Regions from separate parts of the Homo sapiens genome. Here regions 2, 3, 4, 5, 6 and 7 are each linked to region 1. The links are contacts of gene promoters, found by promoter capture Hi-C in blood cells and fetal thymus (Javierre and others, 2016). All regions are on one chromosome and are shown on one strand. The core of a region is centred on a gene start or on the middle of the fragment in contact, and the rest is flanking DNA. Distances in the headings are between cores, read along the strand shown. Region 1 holds the start of TATDN1 (TatD DNase domain containing 1). Region 2 overlaps WASHC5 (WASH complex subunit 5). Region 3 overlaps SQLE (squalene epoxidase). Region 4 overlaps LINC00964 (long intergenic non-protein coding RNA 964). Region 5 has its middle 22 kb from the start of LINC00964. Region 6 has its middle 45 kb from the start of LINC00964. Region 7 overlaps LOC105375743 (a long non-coding RNA gene).

The links. Contacts are between HindIII fragments. The CHiCAGO score rates a contact against its expected background, and 5 or more counts as called.
Region 2: a contact is called between a fragment that was not itself captured here and the fragment with the promoter of TATDN1 in region 1, in 13 of 17 cell types (erythroblasts, naive B cells, total B cells and 10 more). The highest score is 11.8, in erythroblasts.
Region 3: a contact is called between a fragment that was not itself captured here and the fragment with the promoter of TATDN1 in region 1, in 9 of 17 cell types (megakaryocytes, erythroblasts, total B cells and 6 more). The highest score is 10.1, in megakaryocytes.
Region 4: a fragment that was not itself captured here is called in contact with the fragment with the promoter of TATDN1 in region 1 in 5 of 17 cell types (naive CD4 T cells, total B cells, total CD8 T cells and 2 more); the score reaches 7.0 in naive CD4 T cells.
Region 5: a fragment that was not itself captured here is called in contact with the fragment with the promoter of TATDN1 in region 1 in 6 of 17 cell types (endothelial precursors, naive B cells, total B cells and 3 more); the score reaches 8.1 in endothelial precursors.
Region 6: a fragment that was not itself captured here is called in contact with the fragment with the promoter of TATDN1 in region 1 in 1 of 17 cell types (total B cells); the score reaches 6.3 in total B cells.
Region 7: a contact is called between a fragment that was not itself captured here and the fragment with the promoter of TATDN1 in region 1, in 1 of 17 cell types (M1 macrophages). The highest score is 5.9, in M1 macrophages.

The regions. Positions count from the first base shown.
Region 1 is chr8:124,537,499-124,540,488 of GRCh38, reverse strand. TATDN1 (TatD DNase domain containing 1) reads left to right here and starts at 1,404. Exons shown (of 12, transcript NM_032026.4): 1 at 1,404-1,464. The coding sequence starts at 1,443. NDUFB9 (NADH:ubiquinone oxidoreductase subunit B9) reads right to left here and starts at 1,366. Exons shown (of 4, transcript NM_005005.3): 1 at 1,202-1,366. The coding sequence starts at 1,302. RefSeq lists an enhancer at 1,474-1,543. The HindIII fragment of the contact is 3,000 bases long and covers 773-2,990 here.
Region 2 is chr8:125,033,747-125,036,736 of GRCh38, reverse strand. All of the region lies in intron 26 of WASHC5 (WASH complex subunit 5), which reads left to right. Among named protein-coding and RNA genes, the nearest start is that of WASHC5-AS1, 5.4 kb to the left of the region's middle. The HindIII fragment of the contact is 917 bases long and covers 936-1,852 here.
Region 3 is chr8:125,012,248-125,015,237 of GRCh38, reverse strand. All of the region lies in intron 7 of SQLE (squalene epoxidase), which reads right to left. Among named protein-coding and RNA genes, the nearest start is that of SQLE, 15 kb to the right of the region's middle. The HindIII fragment of the contact is 3,605 bases long and covers 1-2,990 here.
Region 4 is chr8:124,948,851-124,951,840 of GRCh38, reverse strand. It overlaps LINC00964 (long intergenic non-protein coding RNA 964), which reads right to left. Exons shown (of 4, transcript NR_027321.1): 4 at 746-1,025. Among named protein-coding and RNA genes, the nearest start is that of LINC00964, 8.3 kb to the right of the region's middle. The HindIII fragment of the contact is 6,113 bases long and covers 1-2,990 here.
Region 5 is chr8:124,919,001-124,921,990 of GRCh38, reverse strand. It overlaps the pseudogene MRS2P1. Among named protein-coding and RNA genes, the nearest start is that of LINC00964, 22 kb to the left of the region's middle. The HindIII fragment of the contact is 821 bases long and covers 1,008-1,828 here.
Region 6 is chr8:124,895,347-124,898,336 of GRCh38, reverse strand. No RefSeq gene overlaps it. Among named protein-coding and RNA genes, the nearest start is that of LINC00964, 45 kb to the left of the region's middle. The HindIII fragment of the contact is 969 bases long and covers 916-1,884 here.
Region 7 is chr8:124,847,155-124,850,144 of GRCh38, reverse strand. The region is part of intron 1 of LOC105375743 (a long non-coding RNA gene); the gene reads left to right. Among named protein-coding and RNA genes, the nearest start is that of MIR4662B, 27 kb to the right of the region's middle. RefSeq lists a silencer at 1,744-2,038 and enhancers at 1,744-2,038, 1,183-2,382. The HindIII fragment of the contact is 1,100 bases long and covers 893-1,992 here.

The DNA of each region.
Region 1 (2,990 bases), core at 155-2,654:
AGGGTAATTTGGATATTCATCACCTCAAACATTTACCATTTGTGTTGGGATACCTGAATCCCTGATGGCTCAACTTCCTTCATCATCGATTTGTTTACATGTCCATTTTCCCCACTAATCCGTGAGCTGCTGCTGCTCAAAAATGGATTTACTAACATTTATATATTTAGCATAGAGCATAGAATCTGAATTGCAAATTCTGTCAAATCAATAAATAAATAAGGAAAACTCAAGGAAGAAACTAACAATCCCATCACATTGTACTTGGCCATCTTCCTGCCAAATCAAGAGAAGTATGTCAGTGATTTTCTAATAGTCACATATATGCAATCTGGGCTTCGAGGGTACCCTCTGTAATTCTTCCAGGCCTACTCCATTTTCCATAGAGTTTTTTTCCCAGAAGGCCTTCTTATAAAACTACGTTTGGAGAGTCGTAAGACTGGAGTGGAGGCGAGGCACTCACACATCTTGGGTTGTTAGCCCACCCTGCAATGAATTTAGGTGATTAAAATCTACACATTTTAACACTATGTTCTCAGACTAGTCTCAGACGGATAGAGGTCGAAAGAGAATTATGTAAGAGGTGAAAAAGATGTAAAGGTAATGAAAAGGACTAGATGAAGCTAAAAAGAGAAAAGCTAATGGGAGGGGTGGGAGAATGATGATGCTTTGGAGAAAGACCTAAATTTTAACCCTGGCTCAGACACTTAGAAACTCTATCACCTTGCGCAAGTTACCAGCTGTGCTCATCTTCTTATCTGTAAAATAAGCTTAAGATAATTCCTAACTCCTAGAGTTTTGCAGACTGAAGAAAATAATGCATAGTTTATTGCTGTTAATATTGGAAAGGAGAAGATCGTGAAGAAAACGATTGAGCGAGCGCTGGACCCATGACAATTACAATTTTAGGCACTTTCCTTTATTTCACTTAATTTTCCTGCGACCCTCTGCGCTGGTCGTGCGTCCGTTTTACTAAACAAAAAGCTGACGCCCAGACCCGACAAGCAACTCTACAAGGTCTCCCGGCCATAAGTGGCGAAGCCTGGATTTGAACCCGGGTCTACCATAGGATTCTGTGAAGCGAGAGGCCACCTTCCAATTCCGTTCCCGAAGTCCTTGAACCTCCAGGTACCCAGGGGCCTCTCCACCTCCATGGGGCCCCGAGGGTCACCTCCCCGAGTCCTGGGTCCCCATCCCTTACCTCTGGACGCACCACGACTCGAGGTGGCGTAGCGCCCGCTTATAAAGCCGCAACACCTTTTGCTGATGGGTCAGGTAGGGTCCCGACGCCAAGAACGCCATTACGGCGCTGACCTTCCCCGGCCGCGCGGAGAGCCGGGAAACTGCACGCCTGCTGCGGGTGACTGAGCGGGGCCAGCCGGAAGGGCGGAGTTGCCGGCGGCCACTTCCGCTTCCGCTGGGGAGGTCCTCCATGCGCAGTCATGAGTCGCTTCAAGTTTATCGGTAAGAGGAGCGTTTTCCACGCCCTTGGGTCTTTCTGACTTGTCCCGGGCGTCGGTCACCAAGGTCACAGGACCCAGGAATTGCGCCCTCCGGCATTGTAAGGGTTGAAAGGGCCGCTCAGTGGAGGAGGGCGCGGGGAGGTTTCTGGGTGCTGGTAATGCTCTGGTTCTTGATCTAGGTTCTGGATTCACGAGGGTGTATTTATTTGTAAAAATTAACAAGCCGTACAGTTATGATTTTTGTGCTGTTTTCAACATCTGTAATGTATTCAGTTTTTTAAGAAGAAAACTCCAAAAAGGCCAATCACTATGTTTCCATTCATCCCACGTGCACCTCCCGGCCCTTCCCCTCTGCCTTGGCGGAGAGGCTGACCGCTTCTGGGGACCAATTCACTCAAGCATTCATTCGTTCATATCATAGTTAGTGAGCGCCTCAAGTGGGCCTGGCACTGGCCTAGGAACACAGGGCACAAAGCTCCCAGTTGTACTGTCATCACCATCTGGTGGAGAAACTAGAAAACACAAGTAATGGGGAGAAAAACAAACTGTACTTGGCAAGTACAATGATCCAGTCGGCATCAGTAGAACGAGAGGGAGAATGCTGCGGGATTTAAATGGGCATGATCCTCGTTTTGTGGGGTTTCCAGCTACCTGAAGGTGGGAAATGACAGTGATCACACCTCTGCTTTAGCAAGGTAATCCTGATAGCTATTATGTAGGTTTTGTGGGAAATAGGGAGAGGTAGGGAAGCATTTCAAGAGCTTAAACTAGGGTAATGGAAAAGAGAGAGAAATGGAAGAGATGTGTGCAGCATTTAGCAGCTGAGTGTTCATGGCCGGTAGTAGAGAGTGAACAAAGATGACTCAGGGTTTGGAAAAGTACTTAAATATGAAATGGAAGCATGACTAGTTTGGCGGTGAAGAGAGGTACCCAGGTCCATTTGGATTAGGTTAAGTTTGAGATAATTATAGGACATCCAGGTAGAGATATCTGGGCAATTGGGAATGTGGTCTGGCAATCAAGAGATTAGGATTATACATTTAGATCTGAGAGTTATTTAAGCAGTATTTTTTTTTTTCAAAGACGTTGTGCTAAGTCCTGTGGAACTGTAAAATCTAGTGGTGCAGTTTTCAGACTGGAGACCTAAGACCTATGTACTGTACAGTCAAAAGCAAATGCAGGGGAGAATATGTTAAGTGCCAGGAAAAAGGTTTTGAAATTGCTGTGGGAAAGCCTGGAGTAGGGGTTTGGGGAGGGGTTGTCAAATAAGACATTGCCGTGTCTTAGCCTTTCCATCCTAACCTTTGATATAATTGATGAGGGAGATGGAATAAAGAGCCATGAAGTACTCCGTAAAGAAAGGCCACATAACTTTTTAAAAGTGTGTTTATGTTATACAACCAAATTCCTGCCTCAAGTTAATGTCTTAAATCCATCCTCCATGTAGACTCCATTTTGGTGTATCTAAAAATCAAATCAGCTAAATGTTTCTTTTGCTTCAAATCTTTCATTTACGCTCCTCAGGAT
Region 2 (2,990 bases), core at 145-2,644, 500 kb before region 1:
CACCTGGCCGGATTTATTTTTTTTTTAAGTACACTTATTTATTTATTTTATTTTATTTATTTTTTGAGACAAGGTCTCACTCAGTCACTCAGATGGGAGTACAGTGGCACAATCTCAGCTCACTATGGCCTTGACCTCTCGTGCTCAAGAATCCTTCCACCTCAGCCTCCTGAGTAGCTGGGACTATAGGTGCACACCGCCATGCCCAGCTAATTTTTTTGTATTTTTTGTAGCAACAGGGTTTTGCCATGTTGCCGAGACTGGTTTCAAACTCCTAGGCTCAAGCGATCCACCTGCCTCGGCAACTAAAGGGCTGAGATTACAGGCGTGAGCCATTGTGCCCAGCCCTAGACAGTGGATTTAAAATCAACAAAGTATGGTCTACCTCAGTAAGGGTTCATTGTCCAGCTTGTAGAATGTGAGGGACCTTTGTTTTGATTCTCTTCTTTAATGTTTAGGCAGCTAATTGTGGTGTGAAAGAAACTTTTTTTGGTTGATGTTCTGTTCTTTCAACAGGATGCATGTGCCAGCTGTGTATCTGGAACCATGATGGGAAAAGTAACAATATAGTTAAGGAGATAAGACTAATATTTATACATGAACATTTAATACTTTATGTATGATTGTATGTCAGAATATTCTGTACAAACAAGAGACACCAAAGCCTTTCAATATGTCTGTTCTCTCCAGGAATATAACCCTAATTTATTTTTGTCATTCGTCAGAATATTTTTGTAGTTACATAATAGATAACAAAGTGTTTCCTCTGCCTTCAAACTTTGTATCCAGCTAAATGACATTTTTAAAAATCCACTATAGACTTTAGTTTACTTTAAAAGCATTATAAGAGCATTTCTACAAATGTAATCATTGTTTCTTAACTAGAGATTCCTAAATATATTTCTTCCTTACAGTACTTTCCTATTTCATAAGCTTTTTTAGGGTGAAAATGTGGAATCTCTTTAATGTTTTTATTCTCTCATTCAAAAGTAATCATTGATTCTAGACACTGCTTCCATGACAATGCCTGTGATTGTCACAGAAGGCAGAGCATGATCTCCTCAAACAATACTTGCTGTAGGAGGGAGGGAACCAATGTGTGTTTGGAATCTGGCTTCACCACTTATCACCTATGTGACTTTGGCCAAGTCACCGCAAACTGAGTGCCCAACAGGTGCTGAGTCCCTTTCTATATATTGGTCAAAATCAATTTAAAGGGCCATCCCAAGTGTAATGTAAAGGTTCATCTGAAGATTCAGAGATTCATGTTCTCTCTCTGTTCTATGTTATTATTCAATAGGAATATATGATTCTTGATAATGAACTGTCAGTGCAGAAAGAACCTTCTTTTCATTAAAGAATAACTTTTTGTTGACTTCTCATTCTAATTTTTTTTTCATTGTGTATATGATTAGGGCCTGGCACCTTGATTGTAAAGCTGCTTATGGAAAGTATCACTCTCCCTGGAATTCCCAGATCTTAAAACATAACACAACAAAATCTTTATGTATCCTAGAAATGTGGTGTTTATAACTGACTATAATTCTTCTCATCAATAAGACTGATGTGTTAATGCAGGAACTAAATTACAGTAGGACTGAGGAAGGAACAATTGTTTGGTATCTTTGTGGGTATTCAGTTGCTCATATAAGGGTGAGACTATCTCTAGACTATTCTGTTCCATTGATGTGTTTGTCTTTTCTTATGCCAATAATGTCTTGATTATTGAAACTGTAAAGAGAGCCTTGAAACTGTATATCCGAAAAACATTTATTTAACCTTGTAAACACCGTTCTCAGCATTGGCCTATGAAATGCATACCTGGCTTGGTCTGTGTTTGAAGAAAGAAGCTTCGTGGTGTAGTGCTAGTTGTAGAAGTGTTTGTTGTTAACATCACTCTTGCTTTCCACCTGGAAAGGATTATTTCTCCATACTGAGTCCTGTTAGGATTCTTCCTCCATGTTCTGAATTGCCAAGGCCTAGGTTAGGTTATTCAGGATCACTTGTTTAGGCTTCTCTGGTTTGGGGAAGATTTTCCGGTCTTCACAAGAAGTCAAATATGGGACCTGAGGGTCTGTCTAACCAGTTAACTTGATAAGAAACTGCCAACCCTTTGTCCAAAGTGGTTGTGCCAGTTACACTCTCACCAAGAGTGAGTATATGTGTAGTCCACATCCTCGCCATTATTTGGTGGCGTCAGTCATTTTCATTTTAGCCATTCTTTTTTTTTTTCTGAAACAGAGTCTCACTCTGTCACCCAGGCTGAAGTGCAGTAGCGTAATCTCGGCCCACTGCAACCTCCACCTCCTGGGTTCAAGCAGTTCTGCCTCGGCCACCTGAGTAGCTGGAATTACAGGCTACAAGCATGCATCACCATGCTCGGGTAATTTTTGTATTGTTAGTAGAGACAGGTTTCACCATGTTGGCCAGGCTGGTCTCGAACTCCTGACCTCAAGTGTTCCACCCACCTTGGCCTCCCAAAGTGCCAAGATTACAGGCATAAGCCACTGAACCCAGCCCATTTTAGCCATCCTGATGGGTATCTATGGTATCTTGTTGCAGCTTTAATTTGCCTCCCTGATGATTAATGATTTTGAGCACTTTTTCATGTGCTTATTGGCCATTCCTTATATCCTTCTCTGCGAAGTGCCTGTTCTAGTCTTATGCTCGTTTTTAAATTTTTTTTTTATTACAGAGTTGTAGTAGTTATGTATATATTATGGATACAAGTTCCTTATTAGATATGTTTTGAGAATATTGTGACTTATCTATGTATTTTTTTACTGGTAACTTTAATGAGCAGAAGTTTTTACTGTTGATGGTGTCCAGTTTATCCATTTTTTTCCTTTATAATTATTCTTTTTTGTCTTGTCTAAGAAATCTCTGCCAGGCCAGGCACAGTGGCCCATGCCTGTAATCCCAGCATTTTGGGAGGCTGAGACGAGAGGATCACCTGAGGTCAGGAGTTTGAGACCAGCCTGGTCAACATA
Region 3 (2,990 bases), core at 219-2,718, 470 kb before region 1:
AAATGGAAACCAAAAAAGAGCATAGTGATATTTACATCAGTAAAATAGATTTCAAGACAAAAACTATAAAAAGAGGCAAAGAAGGTCATTAGATAATGATAAAGGGGTCAATTCAGCAAGAGGATGTAACAATTACATATGCACCCAATACCGGAGCACTCAGATATATAAAGGAAATATTATTAGAGCTAAGGAGACAGACCCCAATACAATCATGGCTGGAGACTTCAACACCCCACCTTCAGCACTGAATAGATCATCCAGACAGATAAACAACAAACATCAGACTTAATCTGGACTACAGGCCAAACAGACCTAACAAATATTCACAGAACATTTCATCCAACAACTGCAGAATACACATTCTTCTCCTCAGCAAATCGATCATTCACAAGGATAGATCATGGGTAGGCCACAAAACAAGGCTTAAAAAATTCAAAAAACAATTGAAATCATATCAAGTATCTTCTCTGACCACAGTGGAATAAAACTAGAAATCAGTACTATGAGGAACTTTGGAGACTGTGTATACAAACACATGGAAATTAAACCACATGCTCTTGAATGACCAGTGGGTCAATGAAGAAATTAAGAAGTAAATATAAAAATTTCTTGATAGAAATAAAAATGCAAAGACAATATATAAAACCTGTGAGACACAGCAAAAGCAATACTTAAAGGGAAAGTTTTTAGCAGTAAGTGCCTACATCAAAAAAGCAGGAAAACATCAAATAAACAACCTAACAGTGCATCTCAACCAGAAAAGCAAGAGCAAACCAAACCCCAAATTAGTAGAAAATAATAAAGATCAGAGCCAAAATAAATGAAATGAAAAAAATACAAAAGATAACAAAATGAAAAGTTGGTTCTTTGAAAAGATAAAATCAGCAAACCTTTAAGACAAACTAAGAAAAAAGAAAGAAAACCCAATTAACTCCTTTTCCTGTTCCTATGTCAGCAAATGGCTGGCAAAACTATCTAAGCCAGAAACCTGGAATTTACATCAAGAGATTTCACTCTCATTATAATATCCAAATCATCACGTTTTTTACATTCTACATCCTAGATATTACCCAAATTTATTCATTACCTTTCATTTTACAACCCTAGTTCTGGCCTTTTATCATCATTGACAGAATAATTAATCTTAGTGTATGTTTTACTAGACTTTCCTCCAAACCATCCTCCACAAAAATGTCAGAGTATATTCCTGAAATAAAAGTCTAATCATGCCACTGCCTCTTTAAGAAAATTCCATTTACAAAAGTATCAAAAAAGGTAAAATACTTAGGAATAAATTTAACAAAAGAAATGCAAAACTTATACTCTGAAAACTACAAAATATTGTTGAAAGAAACCCTTACCTTTCAGTCAAGGGAATTTTGACCACAAGGGCAAGAAAATTCACTGGGGAACAAACAGTCTTTTCAACAAATGATACTGGGACAACTGAATATCCACACACAAACAAATCAAGCTGGACCCCTTCCTCTCAACAGACACAAAATTTAACTCAAAATGGATCAAAGAGCTAAATTTAAGAGGTAAAACTATAAAACTCTTAGAAGAAAATATAGGAGTAACAGGCCAGGCATGGTGGCTCATGCCTGTAATCCCAGGACTTTGGGAGGCTGAGGTGGGTGGATCACCTGAGGTCAGGAGTTTGAGACCAGCCTGGCCAACATGGCGAAACCCCGTCTCTACTAAAAATACAAAAATTAGCTGGGCACGGTGGCGAGCACCTATAATCCCAGCTACTCGGGAGGCTGAGGCAGGAGAATTGCTTGAACCTGGGAGGCCGAGGTTGCAATGAGCCGAGATCGCACCATCGCACTCCAGCCTAGGCGACAAGAGCGAAACTCCATCTCAAAAAAAAAAAAAGAAAAAGAAAACATAGGAGTAAATCTTTTTGAACTTAGATTGGACAAAGCCTTCCTAAATATGACATCAAAAGCACAAGCAACGAAAGAAAAAATAAACATGAAAATTTAAACCATGTGTACTTCAATGGAAACCATTAAGAAGAATGGAAAGAAAACCCACAGAATGAGAAAAATTTTGCAAATCACATATCTAATAAGGGACTTGTACCTAAAATATATAAAGGACTCTTGAAACTCAACAATACATAAATTTTAAATCTGCCCAATTAAAAAAATATGCAAAGTCTAAATATACATTTCTCCAAACAACAAATGGCCTATATGCATATGAAAAGATGTTCAACATCATTATCTATGAGAGAAATGCAAATCAGCACAATGATAAAAGGCCTAGTTCACACTACTAGGATGGCTATGCACACAAAGATAATACAAGTGTTCACTGACAAGGATGTGGAGAAATTAGAACTCACACACTGCTGAAAGGAATGTAACTGGGACAGCTATTTTGGAAAACAAGTCTAGCAGCTCCTCAAAAAGTTAAACGTGAACTACTATGTAATCCAGCAATATCACTCTTGGGTATATAACCAAGAAAAATGAAAATATATGTCCACACAAAAACTCGCACACAGATGTTCATAGCAGCATTGCTTGTAATAACCAAAAAGTAGAAACAACCCAAATATCTATCAATTGATGAATGGCTAAACAAAATGTAATATAGCCACACAATGGAAGATTATTTGGCCATAAAAACAAATGAAGAACTGAAACATGCTACAACATGAATGAACCTCAAAAACATTGTGCTAAATGAAAAGCCAGTTCCAAAGGGCTTTACTATACAATGCCTTTAGGAAACATCCCAAATAGACAAATCTAGACACAGAAAGTAAATTAGGGGTAGCCTAGGGCTGAGTGTTGGGAGGAAATGGGGAGTGAATACCAATGGGTACGGGGTTTCTTTGGGCAAGATAAAAATGTTCTAAATTTGATTGTGGTGGTGATGCACACACTGTGAATATACTAAAAAAGTCACTGTACTGTACACTTTAAATGGGCAAACTGATTTGTGAATTATATATCAATAAAGTTAGTAACAAG
Region 4 (2,990 bases), core at 314-2,813, 410 kb before region 1:
ATGATTTACTTATATTAACTAATTCCCCAGGGTTATTCTTGTATTCTTGAAATTAGCCCTACTTGTCCATGGATATTATTCTTTTCACATATTGACTGATGTGAGATGTTGGCGTGTCATCTAAGTTTTATTTGCAACAGAGCTTTGTTTATCATTTTATTTTTTGTGCAATCTTTGCCTAGGCAGGTATAAAGGGAGCAGAATAGTGGCAAAATGTTCACACAGATAGAGCAAGTTAGTCACAGAAGAAAGCAGAGGAGATGATCATGTGAAGAAATAAATGTATAGGGGAGAAAAGCAATAAATCATAACTTCAACACACAGCCTTTCTTCTTGGTTTCTTTAAAGACAGCAAAAAAAATATGATGCCAGACTCACATAAATCGAAGTAGATAATGTCATTCTCAAAGAGTTTATCCAGCACTCTCCCATATGTCAATTATTCAACAACTATTTACTAAGCATCTACTACACTCAGGTATTCTGTTGGATGCTAAGGAAATCATGGTGAATAATTTGTTCTATGTACAGCCATATCTTAAGAAGTACATTCTAAGTAGTGCCACTCTTACATTGAAGTGCTGGAGGAAAACAAGTGATTTCCTAAATTACAACAGTAATATAGGCTTAGTGTAAAAAAAAAAAAGAAACAAAACACCAAACTTACACATATCCATAATTTTATTACCATGCTAATATAACTTTTTCTTGTTATCTATAAACTTATAACAAATCCAAAAACATAGTGGTTAAAAACAATTTATTATTATCATTCACAGGGCCTCATGGGCTCAATGAGGCAGTTCTTAATTAGAGTGTCTCAAATGGTGGCAGTCAGAGGGCATCTTTTTTGCCCATGTGGTTAGCTTGGGCTTCCTCACAGCATGATGGTTTCAGAGTGCTCAGACTTTTAAGACAGCATCTGGCATCCTTCAAAGCAAGTGTTCTAAGAGTCGCAGGCAGAAGCTGCAAGGACTTCTTAGGAGCTAGCTTCAGAAGTCACACGGCATGACTTTAGTAGTATTCTGTTGACCAAAGCAGTCACAAATCAGGCCACATTCAAGGGAACAAAGGAATAAACTGCAACCCTGGCTTGTGTGGATATAGGGAGAAGAAATTTATGCTGGTCAGCCATCTTGGAGACAAGCTACCATAATTATTTATCTTTTGTTAGTATGACTTTTCAAAAATTTTTCTACATAACCAAAATATAACCATTAAAATCAGGAAATTAACATTGATACTAACTGCAGTCTAATCCTCAGAACCCATTCAAGTTTTGCCAGTGATTCCAACAAAGTAATCCAGTTCAAAACCACACATTGCATTTAATTGTCAAGTCTTTTTGGTGTTCTTTAGCTTGGAAAAGTTCCTTTGTCTTCCCTTAACTTAAATGACCTTGGCAACTTTGATGATAGCTGACCAGTTATTACATAGAATGTCCCTCAATCTGAGTTTCTTACAATGTCTCTGATGTTTCCTTAAGTTATGTATCTTGGGTAGAAATACCACAGAAGTGTTGTATTCTTCTCACTGATACTATTGGCTGAGGCATAATTTACATCTGTCTCACTGCTGTTGATATTCAGTTAGATCACTTGATTAGGGTGGTATCCACTAGGCTCCTCCTAGCAGAGAACTAGGAATAACTTCCAAATTGCTCTTTAACCCTTTGTAATTAATAAGTGTTTTGTGCAGAGTTATTTTGAAATAGATATCCTGTTCCTCATCAAACTTTCAATTTATTCATTTATTTCTATCTTTATGGACGTACACCTTCCTATTTTATTCAAAGGGATTACGGTAGTTTTCTATTGCTGCTGAGACAAATCACATTTTAGTGGCTTAAAACAACATAAATGCATTATCTAACAGTTCTTTATGTCAGGAGTCTGACACAGGACTCACTGGGCTAAAAATCAAGGTGTTGACAGGGTGGCATTGCTTCCTGGAGGCTCTAAGGGTGAATCCATTTTATTGCCTTTTCTGTCTTCTAGAGGCCACTCACATTCCTTGTCTCCTGGATCCCTTCCTCCATTTGGAAGCCAACAACACAGGTTGAGTCCTTCTCATGCTTCCATCTCTCTGGTTCTCTGTAGTCAGGAAGGATTTCTATTTTTAAGGACTCATGTGATTACACTGGGCCTGTCTAGATAATCTGTATTAGTCAGTGTTCTCTGGAGGAACAGGACTAAAAGGATAGATGTATATATAAAAGGGAGTTTATTAGGAGTATTGACTCACACAATGCCAAGTTGAAGTCCCACAATAGGCTGTCTGCAAGCTGAGTAGCAAGCAAGGAAGTCAGTTTGAGTCTCAAAACCTCAAAAGTAGGGAAGCCAACAGTGCAGCCTTCAGTCTGTGGCAGAAGGCCTGAGAGGCCCTGGCAAACCACTGGTGTAAGCCCAAGAGTCCAAAAGCTGAAGAACTTGGAGTCTAATGTTCGAGGGCAGGAAGCATCCAGCAAGGGAGAAACAGGAAGGCTGGAAGACCCAGCCAGTCTAGTCCTTCCAGGCTCTTCTGCCTGCTTTATCCTAGCCATGGGGGCATCTGCTTAGATCGTGCCCATCCATATTGAGGGTAGGTCTGCCTCTCCCAGTCCACTGACTTAAATGTTAACCTCCTTTGGCAACACCTTTACAGATACACCCAGGAACAATACTTTGCATCCTTCAATCCAATCAAGTTGACACTCAATTTTAGCTATTACATAATCCAAGATAATCTTTCTATTTTGGGGTCTCTAATCAAATCTGCAAATTCCCTTTTCCCATGCAAGATTCCATGTTCATAGATTCCACTGATGCAGGCATAGACAACTTTGTAGGCCATTATTCTGCCTACCACAAGGATTATAATCCCTTATATTAATTATTTTGATGGTCAAATTGTCTCCAACTGGCTATTTGAGTTATCTACAAGTTAGCTTCTGGGTCCTTTTGATATGACTCCATAGTCTTTGAGAGCTTCCTTGCTTTCTGGCACAAAAA
Region 5 (2,990 bases), core at 169-2,668, 380 kb before region 1:
TTTTCAGTAAAGAGGCCATCATAGGAGGCAACGGAGCTTCCGGCTGTCGTCCAAGGAATGAAAGCAGGCGCCTCCAGATGAGGCTACTTCCCATGAACATAATTCCTGTAATCAGCCAAAACACTCTAGGGTCCTCTTCAAGGAGGATTCCAAAATCATTCCAAAAGCAATTCCCATTAGTCCAAAGAGTGAAAGAGAGAAGATTCCCATGGTCAGCAGTAGATTCAACCTCATCATCACATTACGGTGGCTGTCCAGATTGATGAAAATGATACTTCGTGAATCATCAGTCAGTACCCTAAGCTCCCAAACTGTATTGAAGAGATCGTCAGCCAATAGGTAGTAGTTTTCCAACAGCAGGTCCATCTCTTCTGTGTTAGGGACAAGCTACCCCAGGACCTGCCCCTGCCTCTCAGTGCAGCTGACCCCTACGCTGAATACTCTGCAGCTGCATTCCTGAACCCTTATCTAGGTGCTCCAGCAAGGTCACCAGACTTGCTTACAGCCCTCCGGCTGGCACGGGGGAGGTCACGAGAAACGTGGATAAACCTAAGTAACACCCTCTTGTAAATTCCTATTTTCACAAGATAATATATTGTAAGCCGGTCACGAGATGCTATGTGGTAAAGTTAACCGAAAAACAACCCCAGGGTCTCTTTCCCCAATATAAACCCCTCATTTTGTAAGCTCAGGGCTGCCTCCTCTGACTGTAGTGGAGCAGCCTGGCAGGTTAATAAACATCCTTGCCTGACCTTGGGTCTCTCTCTCGTCTTTTCTCTCAGCTAACCTTACATTCTGCATGGCGAATCCCAGTACTGCTCTTTTCAAAGACTGGTGGGTCACTCCATTTTGATAGACAGAGCTCTTCTAGTAACTTTTCCTCACCCAAGATCTCCAAAATTGACTCTTGGAAAATTTTAATATCTGTTTCTAACTCTGATAGACTTTTGTCATTCCGTAGTAAAATATGCGGTTAGCTTTTGTCCACAGAAGAATGTTTGAAAGCTTCTAAGGTCTCAAAGGTCAGTGTCTGCAAAACGCTACGTTTCCTCTAAAGGGGGTTGATCCAGTATTTCAGGGGTGCTTCCATAGCACTAAACTCAAAAGGTAAAGAGTATGTAACAGGTTGACCCTCTCCAGACAACTGTGAAGGGAGTTCCCAGAACAGCCATTGCTCTAAATTTAAATTACCATCATCTAATATCAGGAGACACTCTGGAGTTATCACAGCTTTCAAATACTCCATTGTCATGATAAACCTGCCGTTTCTGGTTGTGATGCTCACTACATGCTGAAATCTCAAGTCTCTGGCTTGAAGACCTAACTCTTGGTATAAGTCAGTTTTCTTCCTTTCAAAAGGAGTAACATTTCCCTGTTTGTCAAATTTTGTTGCGGTAAATACTGGGGCTACACTGCCTACAGTGGCTTGAGAGACATCAGAAGTTCTAAACCCATGCATTGCACCTGCTACGCAGAGCCGGCGGGCCCACACAGGTCAGATCCAAGGCCAGGGAAGTCCCATTGCATGGGTCAGGAGGCAGGGCAAGCTCTGCAGGCATTCATGGCACTACAGCTAGAAGCAGGCAGTAGCCAGACCCCAAGCCCTCATGCCGGACTGTGGCGGCTCAGTCCGCAGCACTCACCTGGCGCTCTTTTGCTCATTTTCTATGTTTTATTTTCTAAACAGTTTTTCACTGTTCACTTTTGAGAATTTTTTATATATTCTAGACACAAGTTCTTAGTAAGATGTGTGACTTGCGAATATTTTCTCCCAGTCTGTGACTAGCTTGCCTTTTCATCTTAACAGGGCCTCTGCTGAGCAAAAGCTTTTAATTTTGATGAGGTCTAATTGATTAATTTCACCTTTTATGGATTGTGCTTTTCATGTCAAGTGTAGGAATGCTTTGCCTAGCCCTGGAGCTAGATTTTCTCCTGTGTTTGTCTTGGAAAGGAGAAGAGTAAATTGACTAAAGCAATGTAGGGTATCTGGGCAGAACTGAGGAGTCACTAAGGGCAAAGGAATGGGAGACGGAGGAGGCTTCAAGGTTACTGCTGGTCCCTGGAGGGGGCACCATGGGTAGCAGCTCCTTCCTCTTCTAGCTTGAGTTACATGGGCAGAGCAGATGGTCATCTTGGCAATATGATGGGAGGCTTAGGTTTCTTCCTCCCCCACAATACTCACAGACCCTGAATAAATTGTCTAGTTCTTTGATTCCCTCAGAGCTTTATCCGCAATCACATGTTTTCACTACATTGTCATGACTGACTTCTCATAACAGCTCTGTAGGGAGGACATATTATTATCCCCTTTTACAGAAGATACAACTAAGGCCAGAGAAGGGATGGGACTGAACACAAATCTCCTGATATGGAGAGGAATGACTGTTCTTCTCTACCAGCTGAATCTTGAATTCCGCCACCAGTTATTTCATGAGGTCAGTGGTTCTCAAAGGATGATCCATGGGCCCCTAGGGATGCCTAAGACCTTTTCAGAGGGTCCTCAAGGTCAAAGCTATTTCCCCAATAATGCAAAAACATTATTTGCCTTTTCTCCATAAGCAAAAATTCTCCATTTTCACGTATGATGCCAAAGCAAAGACAGGTAAAAAAAACTGCCTTAGCATGAATTGAGGCAGTGGCACTGATTCTTCATCCCCTCAATCACTCACAGGAGAGGTAATAGCCAGTTTCACACTGATTTCTTAATAAATGGGAAGTCCACACGAAGTATTTCTGCTGCATACCAAAATAAAATGGTTGTCTTGAGGAAAAGTACTTCTGCAATTATTTAAGTTGCAAGCTGAACTATTTTTTTTGCATGCAATGCAAGTTTTACTTGAGATAATGGCTGACAAACTATACTGATTTAGACTTGGGTATTTGGCAGGCATTTTCTTAACAAATGAACAAAGTGAGCCTGTCACATCAAGGAACGCCACTGACTGTTGCCAATGACAACATTTGAGCTTTCAAGTGAAAATTAGAATTTT
Region 6 (2,990 bases), core at 151-2,650, 360 kb before region 1:
CCTGGCCATAGAAGGCATTTGAGCATTAATTTGGACTCCATTCTAGAAAAATCTTTCTTTAGCACCACAAGCCAGCTGAGGAAGTTTTCCTGAGCCCTTTATCCAGTTGCTCTAGAAATAAATCAGGGACTTGGAGCCCACGTATTTAGATATCTAAATATCTAATACACAACTGTATCCACACATCTAAATATCTAATACACAACCGCCAGGTGCAGTGGCTTACACCTGTAATCTCAACAACTTGAGAGGATGGCTAGGGCCTCCGAGTTCTGGAGTTCGAGACCAGCCTGGGAAATAGCAGGACCCTGTCTCTAAAAAATATAAATATATTTTTTAAAATTAGGAGTGGTGGCATATGTCTGTAGTCGTAGCTACTTGGGGAGATTGCTTGAACCCTGGAATTCAAGGCTGCAGTGAGCTACAGTCATGCCACTGCACTGCAGCCTGGGCAACAGAGCAAGACCCTAGCTCTAAAAACAAACAAACAAACAAACAAATAAAATACGCAAACAGATGTAAGCAAGTGCTTTGCTTCATGTGTCAGGCCTCTGAGCCCAAGCCTGCACATATACATCCAGATGGCCTGAGGCAATCAGAAGTGCAAAAGAAGTGAAACAGCCAGCTCTTGTCTTAACAGATTGAACAACCTTATGACATTCCATTATGACTTGTTCCTTCCCTGCCCCAACTGATCGATCGATCGACCTTGTGACATTCTTCTTCTGGACAATGAGTCTTATGATCTCCCCACCATGCACCTTGTGACCCCCTCATAGGCTGACAATAGATAACCACCTTTAACTGTAACTTTCCACTGCTTACCCCAGTCCTATAAAACTGCCCCATCCCTATCTCCCTTTGCTGACTCTCTTTTCGGACTCAGCCCACCTGCACCCAGGTGATTAAAAAGCTTTATTGCTCACACAAAGCCTGTTGGTGGTCTCTTCACACGGATGTGCATGACATCATGCACTAGCCATTATGTGCACTCTGCATGCCAGTTAAAAAAGACTGAGCCTGCAGAGTTCTTCCTGGGAGTTCTTAGGAACAGGAGGCAGTGGCATTTTCCACATTTGGAACACAGAACTCAGGCAACTAGGATGCACGGAGGTGCAGAGCAGCTCCATAAGGTCTGCAGGAGCTGGCTGGGCTCTTAAGAATTTCTCTCTGCGTCCTTCTGCATTTTGTCAAGCTGGCTAGCTGCATGATAGCCAAGCACTTGATTTTTGCCCCTCCATTTCCCGTTGCACACCCTGTCTTTCTGGTGTGGAGTTTAACCAGACATCAGCATCAGGCTGTTGGTTTCCCTTGCAAAGTGATGGCTTCCGAACCCCTGGAGTTCCAGGAAGCACAATTTGCACACTCCATCTTGTCGTCTACGGTAGCTACCCTCTAGTTCACAGGATAGCAGGATAAAGGACTTTGAGTCCTTTGGTTACAAGTTGCCACGGACAAGGGAAGTCATTTTCCTGAACTCAAAATACCCATCTGTGTGTTATCGACTGTTTTTTTTTTTCTAGATGAAAACAACTACATTAACAAAAACAAGATAAATTTAAGTAGTTCATGGTAGGTCCAGTGAAAGCTATAATCCGGGGTTTTATGTTTCATTAATGTTTCAAAAATTAAGGTTTAGCAAAAAAGGTGGGATTGGGGGCCACCAAGAAGAAAGGCAGCACTCCTCTCCAATAACTTGGGCTCGTGATAAAGGGGAAAGCACTTATCCTTAAACCAGACCTCACCCCTTGAAAGATAATTTCTTCTCTAAAGAAATGAGCAGGAAGGGGTGGGGCTCCCGGGCTCACAGAATTTTATCTCAAGACAATGACACGGTCTAATTGCCTGAGTAAGCAGGTTCTGAACACACTAGTCTTCAAAGCTTTGAACCTGCTTCCCTGTACCTGTTTTGAATTTCCTCCTCTCTAACGTGTATTTATATCCTGCCTATTACAAGCTGACAAGAACAATCACTAGCATTATCTGTTTCCTTTCAGATCCTGGTGTAATTCACTTACCTTCTTCCCACGTTTTCTTTTCCTTGCCATCTAACCAGACTGCCTCATAAAGATAAAGGAAGGAGAGAGGTAGCATCTTTGGATGTTATTAAGAAAAAAACAGACAAACCAAACAGGCTATTTAGTCCTGGGTACCTGGAAGAAGTTTTTGTAAATTCATTCATTAATGTGTTCATTCCATTAAGAATTTACCAGGAGGTGACTATGAATTGAGCCCTATGCCAGGCAGTAGGGATTAAAAGGAGAACAAGTCCCTTTCCCTTAAGAAACTCAGTCTAGTAGAAGACAGAGACAAACACCTTAGGTATTTACAAGAGAGTCAGTGTAAATAAACTTGACTGTTATCGTGGAAAAGTATGTATCCAGGGTTAGGCTAAAGAAGAGGTAAGGATGATGTCTGCTGATTTGACTGAAGTTGTCTAGATTTTCTCATTACTGACAGTTGTGTCTTAAGGACTTCCTAGAGGCAATGCCAGGCTTTGGGTGGACAGTCATGATGTGTACAGGAGTCACCAGAATGCCTTTGCTTTATGGATGTATTTCTTGTTGGACTCATTTTCCTAACATTTGGAGGAAGGAGGAAGAGTGAAAAGCACAGCCGAGACAGAAAGTGAGTGCAGAGAGATGTCTTAGGTCATCAGCTATTATTTTAGTTGGTGCAAAAGTAATCGCGGTTTTTGCCATAACTTTTAATAGCTCTCTGCTTAGGGACAAAAGAAAAGGCAACTTCTTGCATGACTCAGCTTTCAGCTTAATTGTTTCCTTTTGGCAGAAGGAACTGGGGTACCAAGTTTTTTTTTTCTTTTTTTCTTTTGAGACCGTGTCTTGCTCTGTCGCCCAGGCTGGAGTGCAGTGGTGCGATCTTGGCTCACTGCAAGCGCCGCCTCCCGGGTTGATGCTGTTTTCCTGCCTCAGCCTCCCGAGTAGCCGGAACTACATGCGCCCGCCACCGCGCCCGTCACCACGCCCGGC
Region 7 (2,990 bases), core at 193-2,692, 310 kb before region 1:
GTATTTTTATATATAATATATATATAAGGTACATGATATTTATATTTAACAAAACAATTTGTTTTAAAAGAAAACAATACCTGTTTTAAAGAGCTATGAGAATGAAAAGAGACTGTGTTCATCTAGCACTTAGCACAGATCTGGCATGCAAGAAGTACTGAATGGGCGGAAGCAATACTTGTTATCCCTACCATTGGTCACCGCTGTGCGTTGCATCTGCCGTGGGTATGTGGGAGACTTCAGGCCTCACATCTATCACAGGTGGGGAGTTTCTGTTGTCTTGCCTGCTTCACTGGGTGGTTGTGATGAGCAAAGGAGGTCTTGTGTTGAGATGCTTCATAACCTTTTTTTTTTTTTAAAGTGAGGCTGGGCACAGTGGCTCACGTCGGTAATCGCAGCACTTTGGGAGGCAAAGATGAGAGGATTGCTTAAGTCCAAGAGTTTGAAACCAGTCTGGGCAACATAGTGAGACCCTGTCTTTACAAAAGAAATTAAAAAATAAGCCAGGCTTGGTGGTGCAATACACGTGGCCCCAGCTACACAGGAGGCTGAGGCAGGAGGATCGCTTGAGCCCAGAAAGTTGAAGTAGCAATGAGTTGTGTTCCTGCCACTGCACTCTGGGTGGGGTGACAGAATGAGACTCTCAAAAGAAAAAAAAAGTGGAGGAATGATTGATCAAGGTGTTATTAACACATTTCTTAGCTAGCTGAACTTCTTGTCTGTCTTCTCTTTGCACTTCGTATTTATCCTATCACTGCACTTGTCACCTTCCCCGGTGGTAACTTCCTCAGGCCTCTCTCCCCCTCACCTGTCATGAAATCCTCAGGCAGGATCTTCCTCATTTCCATATTCCAGCACCCAGGCCAGCATCTGCACCCACACAGAAGAAGCTTCATTTATTTTTGCTGATCTCAGCTGTTCTGGAGACTTGAAACAACTTTTTAGATGATTTTAACCAGAAGAACTTCTGAGGACTGAAGGCAAGAGGTTTGGTTCTGCTTTACAGATTGGCGTCCCCCCCAGGTGCAACTGACCCAGTAAATGTGTAATTGTCTATACCTGCGCAAATGCAGGCTCCTTGATTAACATGCATCGCCCTCTGGGGAAGAAAGGGAAGGGAAGGAAAGGGAAGGATAACTCAGGGAAAGTAGGAAAAACTCTCCTGGACCTCCCAGGAAAAGGTGACTTCAGGACATGGGCTGCCTGGTTGTTTTCAATGGTTTTCATTATTTAGTTTGAGCTCCTGGGGAGTAAATGTTTCTCAGGCATATTTTGGGGATCTAATTCTGGAGTCCTTGAGCTCGAAATAATGCAATAAAATACCTGCTCCGTGGAAGTGAAAATGGCTGCTTCGCAGGCTACCGAAGCTCTCTGTGCACACCCTTCACAGACAGGAGCTTCCAAGAGGTTAGGTAAGGTGTCCAAGGACTCAGAGGGAAAGTGTCAGAACCGGGACAACAGCATACAGTTCCTGGATAGGAGGGATCCCACAACCTGACTGACAGGCTGAGTGTTGCGATGAACTGAGGAACAAAGGCTGCTTCTCTGGAGCAGGCAGGCAGTTTGCATATTAAAGTACAAAGTGTACTGTAATCTCAGCTACTTGAGAGGCTGAAGCAGGAGAATTGCTTCAACCCGGGAGGTGGGGGTTGCAGTGAGCCGAGATTGCACTACTGCACTCCAGCCTGGGGGACAGACAGAGTGAGACTCCGTCTAAAAAATAAATAAATAAATAATAAAAAATACTAAGTGTATTCATCCTAGAGTTTCTGTACCTTTCATGATGGTTGAAGCAGCTAACTTTTGGACTGAACTTGCCCTCCAAACTCCAGACCAGAAATACCACCTATTTGTCATTCTTCCTTTTGACTCATACTAATTCCTCAGCATGTCCTACAGAAGGGAGTGTTGATAAGCCATGAAAAAGAGGAAGAACATATGATGAGGTAGCATGAGGGGCTTTCTTACTCACCAAATGTAAAGGAACAAGCTTACTCAGCCAGTCTTAATGATTAGCAAGGGACTTTCTCAAGGAAGAAAAGAAAATGGCCGCCACAGTGCTTTCCCCTCACAGTGCACAATTTGCCAATGAGTTCAAAGTGTCTCCGTAACTTCATGCCATTTCTTCTGGTAAGGTTTGGGGGCAGTCAGGGAGGGGTGGTAATTAGTGTTAGATGGGCATACCGAAATAAGGCATAGAGAGGATAACTGGTTTGTTCAGGGGCACACGGCAAACCCATGAAGTCAAACTCAAGTGGCGTCAGGGAGCGCTCAGGCTTCTTCCTGCCTCTAGAAGATTTCACAAGGCCAGGAAGCCAGCAGCCCTAGGGTCAAGTGAAGGGGAGGCAGCTCTGGGACCCACCCAAGAGCAGTTTCTGGTCAGGCATTCCTGGCAACTTGTGGTACCTCGGTCCACCCACGCCTCCTCCACGATGAAAGCTGATAGGCAAGGCCAACGGTCCTCTGGGGCCAGGCAGTGCCTCCGGCCTGGTTTAGGGGGCACTGAGAGGTCTCCCTTCTAAAAATATCTCCCTCCCTTTTCCTGCTGTGGAAGCTGAAGTGGTCACATGCAAGGCTTACTCCCGTGGTTTGAAGCATTATAGTCCCAGTAGATCTGATTTAAAAAATAAATGCCATTATGAGTGGACCAAACAAGTATTACCACACCGTAACATGGGACTTGGCATTTACTTATACCTCTCTCTAAATCCAAAGAAGGATTTGAGAGTATCACACATTTATTTCTCAGATGAGCCAGCTGAGGGAAACAGACCCTGCCCTGGCAAATCCATGGGGCAGCTAGAGAAAACCTTAACTCTACCTAGGACATTTCACTCTCCTGCCCAACACACGCCAAAGCTTCCCGTTGCACCTTGAAAGGAATCCAAACCCAGGATCTTCCCAGGCTCTCCCTGACCCACTCAGGCCCTTGCCTGACTTGCCTCTTGCATTCCATACTTGTTCTCCCGTCTTGTTCTTCACACTCCCAC